Linked DNA regions of Homo sapiens: region 2 is linked to region 1. The links are contacts of gene promoters, found by promoter capture Hi-C in human tissues and cell types (Jung and others, 2019). All regions are on one chromosome and are shown on one strand. Each heading gives the region's core, a stretch centred on a gene start or on the middle of the fragment in contact. The rest is flanking DNA. Distances are from core to core; before and after follow the strand shown. Region 1 holds the start of SLC17A6 (solute carrier family 17 member 6). Region 2 overlaps SLC17A6 (solute carrier family 17 member 6).

Region 1 (5,139 bases), core at 1,146-3,645:
CTATTTTTTTTTTCTTATTACTCGAGTTGGAGACAAAGGGCTCCACAGCATATGGCCGACACCTAAGCTTCCTACTGCCAGAACATGAATAATTAATTATTCACAATCTTGCGTCATTACTATCTCTCTTACAAACACCGAAAAATGTCAAGGGTCCATTTCCCAAGACGCAAAATGCGACTCCCAGATATACAAAGGCTCCCCCAAATCAACTTTTGTAAGATATTCCACATCAAAGGGGAAGATCTCACTTAAATATTTGTTTTTGCATAGTGTTTCATAAGATTTCAACCATCAATTCATTTTTGGCTTTGGTCCTTGGGAGAAGGGACAAATGAAAAGGGGAATGCAGAGAAAAGGAATGGTTTTACTAAAAGGTGGTAGTGTTCTAGTCTACAACATATTCATGAAATTTCTATTAACAACAAACAAACAAAAGGAATGTATAAGGTAACATCTCTGTACGTAGCCCCTTGCGATTGATACTTTCGATATTTAAACAAAGAGCCTTTCCGTTTACAATTTGCAGATATTTTTTCCAATCTACCGTGTAATTGCTTTTCACCTGTGCTGTTTTAAGTGCTATGTGAACACCCAATTGTTTTCACACACACGGGTAAAGCAAGTGAAATTTTTAAACTAATTTCAAATATGCATAGCTTGGAATACTGCTGTCAAGAAGTTTGAGGCCACCCGAAGAAAAATGTCAGGCTTCCGAATTCTATAACGTAGCACCTGGAGAATAAGTCATAAAGGTATTTGTGGCTAGGTTAATGTTTATTCTTAAAGTCCGATCACAATGTTAGAAAACATTGCAATTTATTTTTACTGGGAGAAAAAAATTCAGCCAATGCGGTTTTTTTTTTTCATTTCCTGCATTTGCTTCGTGTGCTCAAATATACGAAGTTGAGCTCTGCACCGGATGGCAGTTGTACTGGGAAAGAACATCCCTTTCCATGGTAGCTGTGGGACTGCAGGGCCCTTGCGGTATCTACTGCCGCATAGGTGCATAATCGTGCCTACATGAAGCCCGCCAAACCTGAAGAGATTTGGAAAATCTGGGAGTGGTTTGATCATTTTCTTTACATTTCTCATGCATTTACAGAGACTTCAATTTCCCAAATATTAAAATTAGTGCTCCTTTGTAATTCTTTTTCCTTTTATGTCTGCCCTGTCGTCTTGATTTTGCTCTAATTATTAAGAAAAGCTGTATCCATATAACATACTTGAAATGATTTAAAGTTTTGCAAATTACAGCATAATTAGTATAGTGACTACAGGAGGATTAAATAATTAAATCATTTCTAGGACTTTCAAAGTAATGTTGCTTGTTATATTTATGGCTGTTCTTCCAGGCATTGACATTTCCTATGCAAGAAATAGACTCTAGGAGATGAAAATAATTAAAAATGCATATACATTGTTTCAGGCTCAGAGAAAGGAATTGCTTCAACTATCAATTATTGATATATTTTGATTCTTCTTCATTCAATACAGAAGACATATTTCACTAGGGGATTCTCTACTATGCTTTTGAAGCTGAGACCTCTCTCTTTCTCTCTCTCTCTAACATATATATATATATATATATATAAAACATATATATATAACATATATATATAACTATATATAACATATATATATAACATATATATATAACATATATATATAACATATATATATAACATATATATATAACATATATATATATATAAACCATTACTCTTTGGAATTTCTTGGTTATTTTTTTAGATGGTTGTGTTTTATATTCATTTGTCTGCATCAAAGGAATTTAATTCGGGGTATCTATAAGCACCAAAAGAAACGCTGTTTGAGCAGGGGCTGGCCATTTCTTAACTGTAAAGAAGATAAATCCTGTGTAGTAAAGGACAAAAACTCTGCAGGCACCAAAGCAAAAATCAAACACACACACACACACACACACACACACACACACACACACCAGACAGGTTCATTTAGTGCAACATTCCTGCATTAATAAGCAGGTTTCCAGAGCACCCCCGCTCCAAGCAATGGGCAACAAAAAGACTTTCCGATCATATTACAATCTTTCTGAGCCACCAGGGTTTACGGAAACGGCCCTGCAGATTTTTTCATGCTGAGCCCCAGGTAAGCAAGTGTTCGCTTTGTCTTACCTGTAGATCTGGCCGAGTGATTTTCCAGCAAAATTCTTTAGCCCCTCTTTTCCTGGGGCCAAAATCCTTTGTTTTACGGATTCCATTCTTGCAAAGACTGTTGTCAGTTCTTGCCAGATTTAAATAGTGATTGCTAGGAAAGGCGAGGATTGCGCATATTGTCTTAATCTCTTAAAGTAGTTGCGGGCTTTTCCTTCTCAGCAGAATGGTAGTGGCTCGCCTCCAGCAAGAGTGAGAGTGAGAGAAGGGAGGGAGAGTGAGAATGAGAATACAACAGAATAGCTGCATGCAACCCACGGGTTTCCTAATAGGAGAGTTGGTAGACACAATCAGAAAGTCTCATTGGAAGGGGAGGATCCGGTGGCAAAGAGCGCAAGCAGTGCCACGGTATTTGGGTAGATGCGGTTGAGTCCTTTTCCTGGAAGTCGGTCAGCTGAAAAACAATGTAAATTCCCGGTTTTGAAGACTTATTGCTCTCAAATCTGATGGCTTTTAAACGGAGGGGCCGGAATATCACAGAAGCCTTGGGAACAGCAAAGTCAAAAGAATGGTACTTTTAAAAATGGTGTCTTTGCTGTAAGGAGCAGAGCATATTCAAAACTCATGGGAGCATCTCAGGTCTCAGGTGAGCAATGCTGCTATTAGTTTTTCCTCTCTGCCCATGATCTCCTCCCATCACGCCAGCGTAAGTCTGCTCTGCGGTAGAGTCAAATTAAGATGGAGAAGGCTTGCTGCTCTTTGAGGACGTGAGTAAATAAAAGATACACAGTTCTGATTTGGGCAGCCTCGGGGAAGATTTTTTTTTTCAGCGGCTGACAGCGCCCGTCTGGGCGGGTCTCGGTACAATGTTTCAGCACCACGGACAGAGTAAGTTTCAGGAATAGGGGACTCTTCTTTTGGCTAGCTAGGTTGCCAACTTTCTAGGGGAGCTGGGCGGATCGCCCTGACCAAGGACCATACGGGGGCTCTTCAGGAACGGATGCTATGGAAACCATTGGGAAGATGTCATCATCTCCAGAGTTTGCAGGGAGAATGGTGCATTTAGCTCTGCTAGGGAAGACAACTTTATTAAAAATTCACAAGTTACTTCTAGTTTGCTACGTTTTGTCCAGCACGCTGATGCCAGTATTGCAGGGAAGAAAGATTTCAACATATTTAACTTATGCTTGTGGTGTTCCAAGACACCTAGGCTCCCTTGAATATAAAATATGTGCACACAAAATACATAATTACATTGTTCATGTGTTTGTTTTAACTCCTGACAGGAAAAAGATGAAAGAAAGAAAGGGAGAGAATGAAGAATAGAGGAAAGGAGAGATAAAGAAAAAGAGGTGGGAGGTATGGAGAGAAGAAAAAAGAATAGCTATAAACTCAGTGAAGTTGATTAAATAAAATACAGTTAATTTAATATAAATTCCTTGGAATTTTAAGCATCTTTATTTAACTAATTTACAATACACTACTGAAATACCAATATACTGATGAAATATGTGGCTATACCTTGTGCTTGCCAACAAATTGTAATTGATAATTTAAAGATTTATTTTTAAAAAGATTTATTTTAATTTACATATATTCCATTCAAATCTTATTTTATTTTTCTTTGTATGTCCTTCTCCTAAAGCATAAATTTTGAAAGACATTCATGTAAGAGTTTTGGCTTTATATATACAGGTACAGCATCAATGAATTTATCTCATTAAGCAAGCAAGAAAACTGCTAGATTAATGTAAATTATTAATCTCTTTCACATGAATCACAAACTTCTTAAGTACAATTCAGGCCAATGCTTACAGAACAGACTGGCCTTGAACCACATTTTCAAGGTCAAAACCTTGGATGTCACATAAGCCAACAGAGGGAGTCAATTTTACTTAGGATCCTGAGACAAAATCTCAAAAATATGGATCTAAATTGAGAATCAAATAAGAATATTACCTGAATAGTTCAAATGATATAATGGCTATGTATTCACTGAATGGATAGCTGGAAAAAAATGTCAAAGTAGCTAAAACCATCTGCCATTATTAAGTTTGATAGTTGTCAAATTATTTCCATTGTGAAATATAATAAAGAAAAGGATAATGAAGACATTTTTATCTTTTTTGATAAATTTGTGTTAAAATATGTATCTTCAATAAAACAGTGAATTTAATTTTTCTCTAAAACCATGGGATGCCTCAGAATACTATCTATTTCTCAAGATCAAGTATAAGGAGACAAAAAAAAAACCCTCATTAAACTATTTCCTTGCAAAAAAAAAAAGAAAAGAAAAAGATTAAAAGATTCAAGCTATTCAGGACTTGACTTATCTAGGTGTTTTCAAAATATCTGTATTTTTCAAATCTTTAATAACTAAGTTCATTAAATTATATTTATTTAGAGATATTAATGATTTTGGAATTCTGGGAAGTTATACAAAAAAATAGAATTTACAACAAATATTTGTGAAGCTGGGGTGATGATATGTAAATGATTTTCCTAAGCACTCCAGCTTAAGTTGCACCACAAATGACTAGAGATCTATCTAAACCATCAGTAAACATGATAGCTAAGTCTCCAATACACAAATATGAGGGGACACTAAGCAATATAAATCCAACACAAAAGCATTGTTTTTAAACAGTTATATTCACCTTTATTGAAATGAATGTCATCCTCCTCTCTCTTCCACTCTCTTGATAATAGGGTGAGCAACTGAATCAGAATAACTGGTAATATTGATTTACTCATTCTAAAAATATTCATTGAGTGTCAAGAATAATACTAGATCTGGGAATTCTCCCTGAAATATCTCACAAGCTACTTGGGAGATAGACACAAAAATACAATTTCAAACAATTATGGGTGAAATTACACAAGTTAAATAACCCAGCCCGGGAGTGAAAATGTCCAGAATATATTTCAAGAGACAATGTTTTCTTGTCTGTCTTAATAGTTAAAAGAAATGTAGTTCTATAAAGATGATGGCAGCCCAGTGGAG
Region 2 (5,139 bases), core at 1,575-4,074, 36 kb before region 1:
AATTTTGAGTAATGTCCCCTGTTTCTTCATCGAGTTCATCTTCATGAATAAATCCACATTTTTCTTCACTTGTTTCCTCCGGGTCTGCCCAGGGTTGTTTCTCTCCTGAGGCAAATATTGCATAAAATATAACTCCACCATAGTGGACTAGGGCAGCGATCAGGAAGACATACTGCCACTCTTCACGTGACTGCAGTGAGAAAAAGCAGCACTGTGAGAACTGACTCCCCATGATTTAAACGCCTAACATCTTCTCTGAATGCACCACCACTGAGTTTTCATAAAACACTATATTTGGGAAAAATCCATATCCTGATTATGTAAAGCAAAAACTATATAACACTTCTGTAATACTATTACTTTTATTATTTAATGTTTTAAATCTAAAAGTTTAGAAATAAAATTACAAATATATCTATGGCCTGCTGATTTTTAAAATATTCATAATCTCTTTTTTTCCATTGATTTACTTATCTTTTTATTCCATTTCCTTTGTTTCTTTACTTGTAGTAAACCAGAATTTTAAAGCTCTGCATACACATATAAGTACAAATAGCTGATGATAATATTGTTCCTTGGACAACTGCAGAGGAGTCTGAATTGAGGTTTACAAACAAAGCTCAGAAGACATCTGCTTGAGTATTTTAATAAGCTAGAGACAAAAGGGGTTTTTATCACATCAGGGGTATTAGAATTATTAAAAAGGGTTGAGAAACATATTGGTTATTGGTTAGGGAAATGGACTTTCTTGGAATTCTTAAAAAGATACTGTATTCTGAGCCTCATTTATATTTCCCACTCAGAGATGTGGTGACTGGACAAGAAAGAAAATGCTAAGGATAATATTTTAACTCTTTTCCAAAAAGATTATCATTTTGAGAAACTGTCTTCTATGACTAAACATCTGTTTTGACCATCTTACCTTATTCTTTGTCATTGCACCAACAATGATAGGACAAACCATTCCTGACAATGTGCCAACACCATTCGAAATGCCCATTAAGATACTGGCATATCTTGGAGCGATATCCAAGTGGTTAACATTGAAACCTGAAATACACACATAAGTTTTGACTCAGGGCATCCTAAACGTCTTAGAAGTAAATACCTATAGAACCACACATCACAACTCCTTAAAATATACTGGGTACAGAACACGTGCTTAATTACTTTGTGATAATTTCTCTCGGGGATATAATGAGAATAGAATGAGGTATGAATTCTTATCTAATACTTAATATGTGATGTTCACTCCACAGAGAAGAGGTAATGTTTTCTTAACAACAACAAAAAAAGGCAGTCCAGGAGGAAATTGAGTATTAACAAATCTAAATGTTTTCTCAATATTTTATTTTTTTCATTTTCTAGTGGAAATATTTGACTATTATTCAACATATAGAATATATATATGAAGATATCTATAAAAAGGTATATGTATGTGTCTTTTATCAGCAGTCAAAATCAGAATGTCCCAAGTACAAAGAAAAAAAATTATATCTTACCAGATATAGCAAATCCACTGAATCCCACTGCAAGTACCAAGAATGAGATTGCTACCCCTCTAGTATGAGAATAGCCAACGACCAGGAGCAGTGTGGCTTCCATGCCAAAACCTTCAGAAGCAAACACATAGAAATTCTTCAGAAATTTTTGAAATTTTACCAATGAGCCAAAACTGCTAAAAATGTTCCAACTTATTGACCTAGAAATTCCACTTCAGAGAGTCTATCTTCAAAACTAATAATAATCATAATAATCATAATAATTTACCCTAGAGATTCATGAAGCTTTCCTTGTGTTTAATAAAAACATCCAGGCCAGATGCGGTGGCTCATGTCTGTAATCCCAGAACTTTGAGAGGCCGAGGCGGGCAGATCACCCTAGGTCAGGAGTTCGAGGCCAGTCTGACCAACATGGAGAAACCCAGACTCTACTAAAAATACAAAATTAGCTGGGTGTGGTGGCACATGCCTGTAAACCCAGCTACTTGGGAGGCTGAGGCAAGAGAATCGCTTGAACCCGGGAGGCGGGGGTTGTGGTGAGCCGAGATCATGCCATCGCACTCCAGCCTGGGCAACAAGAGTGAAACTCCATCTCAAAAACACAAAAACAAACAAAGAAAAACATCCAAAACAACCTAAAGTTTCAATGATTGGAAGAGGTGAGTTAGTTACAATAAATACAAATGGCATTATTATTTATTTTTTTTATTTTTATTTTTTGAGACGGAGTTTCACTCTTGTCACCCAGGCTGGAGTGCAATGGTGTGATCTCGGCTCACTGCAACCTCTGCCTCCAAGGTTCAAGCAATTCTCCTGCCTCAGTCTTCCAAGTAGCTGGACTTACAGGCACTCACCACCATGCCCAGCTAATTTTTTGTGTTTTTAGTCGAGATGGGGTTTCACTATATTGGCCAGGCTGGTCTTGAACTCCTGACCTCGTGATCCACCCACCTTGGCCTCCCAAAGTGCTGGGATTACAGGCATGAGCCACCGTGCCTGGCCACAAATGGCATTATTAAGCAGTTACTTAAAACTAGGAGTTATGAAAAATTTGATGTAATATGAGGAAGTTATTTTAAGTGAATAATGAAGGCACAAATGTAACTGCATCTAAGTAATTTGATATGTGTAGAAAAAGTTATTCTCTCATGTAGGTTAAACTGATTGAACTAAAAACATGTCCTTAGTGCCACTTATGTACTTACCACCACAATTCATGATCTTTCTCACTGTCGTAGTTGAAAGAATCTGCTTGCTTCTTAGAAAATCTGCAATTTGTCCCCCAATAGGCACAATAATTGTCATTACTAAGTGTGGCACAGCAGATAGCATACCAACCTGATGAAAAACAAGAAGGGAGAGAAATAGACATAACCATAAATAATATGGGCAATTTAATGGCCTTTGTTTCTGAATCTGTCATCACATCTTTATGGACAAAGGAAGGAAAAATAATCTTTCCAAATGATCACTTACTCATTCCTAGAAAAAGTAATGCCTTCCACAGAATAAATTAGAAAAGCTAAATTTACTTGGATTCCTTTAGAAGGTAATTTTTTTTTTTTTGCCACGTAATGCATCAGTAAATTTTGAGTATGAATCAACTCTTCTGATATTGTTAAATGTGTTTGCACGAATACACCCTTAGTGAAAGAGAGGAAAAGTGGTGAGAGAGAGAGAGAGGAAAAATACATTTGTCACATCCTGAAGAAGCTGTATTTTAAATTCATGTTTAATTCATATGGGAAAAATGCATATTTGCACTTTAAATATATATATCATGAGTTTTATAGCACAGACATAATTTCTATAGAGTAAGATCCCAGGTAATGCAGATAATTTCTTCAATTTTAAGTATTTTCTGTGTCAAATATCAATACTTGATCACATTTTTGTATGGTGGCATATAGTTTCTGAATTAATTTCATGCTAAATAGCCTAATTTAAAACTTTACGCACCAAGATCAGTTAAACACATATTTTTACCATTACTTACACACAAAGCACTGTGTTGTAAGCATTATGGGGACAGTAAGTATACATAAAATGCATTTGAATTATGTATTACCGCATACGTGGACTTAATAAACTTTGAATGTAAACACATAAGGAAGTTTTTTACTAAGTATACTTTGAAGAACAATTGTTGGCAGATGGCATTCATAATTTGTGTTTAAGTATGTCTTTCCAATTAGATTATCGAAGGTTTGAGACAAAGATTCCATTTTATTTTACACTGGTGTATAGTAAGGTATCACAATCATGGATTTGAGTTGTAATAATTAATTGAGACAGTAAATGACTCCACAGTAGGTTAACTGTTCAGGCTATAGAATGATCTCTTCCATCCCAGATGGATGATTTTAATAGTGTTCTTATTAAATAAAAAAAATTTAGAGTCAGAAGACTTAAGTGATTGTGAGAGCCAAGTTTTGAATCAGTTCTACGTGAGTCGAAAGACTGGGCTCTTAGCCTTTATGCTGAGCACCACTGCCATGAGAAGGAAAAATCAAATAAAATCAGACAATATATATTAATGTGCTTAGTCTAGTACAAAACTTGGTATGTAGCAGGGGCTCAACAGGTACCTAAATAAAGATGTCAGGTAAACTGACATTAAAAAAAAAAATCATTATTGCTTTTGAGACTAGCATCCTGAGAAAAGTACAAGGCTTTTTATTCTTAATATGGAGTAAATATATTTCAAGCAGTCAATGTGTAGAAAGAAACCTTTGAACAACAACAAAAACATTCTGAAAGACACTATGTTAGGATTTGTATAGAATTACATGGCATATTTTTGGCATTTATAAAGGCAGGCTAAAAGTTTGGGAGTAACCACATTGCCTAAGTCCACATAAACGACTTTCATTCTGACCCAGTATTTAATACATCTGAAAAGTTTTTTAATTGAAAATCCTCTGTTATTTACTATCTATTTGAACAATCATTTTGACTACTTTGGATAAGAAAGGAACAAAGCTATGGTTATTTTTTCACACTTTCAGCAAAGGGTGTGCAAAGCACTATGGAAAATGCAAGGTGCTAAAAATCTACAGGGTTAATGAGATAAGTTTTAGACTATTTTAGCATATTGATTTAACATTTAAGGGTATTGACTCTCCTATTTTCTTAATATGTGGATATACTCTGTATTTGACCTCAAAAGAGCCAAAGAGGTTTCAAGTTTTTGAGCTATTCAGTGGTCTTCTTGGCTTTTGGGGACTTATCATGAGTAATCACTTGACACATGATCAAAATGATCAAAACCTTCCTAAAGATCATTCATGTCAATCACATACAAGTGTGCTTATTATTTTAAGGTTTTGCAAGGCTAGGATAAATGTTTTTGAGCTTATAATTGATTTATTCTTCATAGAAACTCCAGGTAATTAGATTTTTGCCTCATCCTTCTTTTAGCTTTTCTGGGTCATAGTCTAGATCGTATGTCTTCCTATCTGATCCACGTCTTGTTCAGAAATAGCAGCAAAGCACAACCAGCCAACACTGTTCTTCTCCTCCCCTAAATAGGAAGCTCAAAAGGAATGGATGTCTATTCTCATTTGGCTTGCCCCTATAATCTGACCTTTGAAAGTGCTGGTTAATCCTAGCACTGACCCGCTGATATGCCATTTTC

The links. The method cuts DNA at HindIII sites, captures the fragments that hold promoters and counts their contacts. A contact is called where the count stands out against the background at its distance.
Region 2: a fragment that was not itself captured here is called in contact with the fragment with the promoter of SLC17A6 in region 1 in 1 of the 25 tissues and cell types used here (adrenal gland).

Annotation. Positions count from the first base shown.
Region 1 is chr11:22,335,637-22,340,775 of GRCh38, reverse strand. It overlaps SLC17A6 (solute carrier family 17 member 6), which reads right to left and starts at 2,395. Exons shown (of 12, transcript NM_020346.3): 1 at 2,157-2,395. The coding sequence starts at 2,242. It overlaps SLC17A6-DT (SLC17A6 divergent transcript), which reads left to right and starts at 2,554. Exons shown (of 4, transcript NR_186351.1): 1 at 2,554-2,781. The HindIII fragment of the contact is 11,384 bases long and covers 1-5,139 here.
Region 2 is chr11:22,372,456-22,377,594 of GRCh38, reverse strand. SLC17A6 (solute carrier family 17 member 6) reads right to left here. Exons shown (of 12, transcript NM_020346.3): 9 at 2,708-2,840; 10 at 1,503-1,613; 11 at 923-1,050; 12 at 1-190. Among named protein-coding and RNA genes, the nearest start is that of SLC17A6, 37 kb to the right of the region's middle. The HindIII fragment of the contact is 8,185 bases long and covers 1-5,139 here.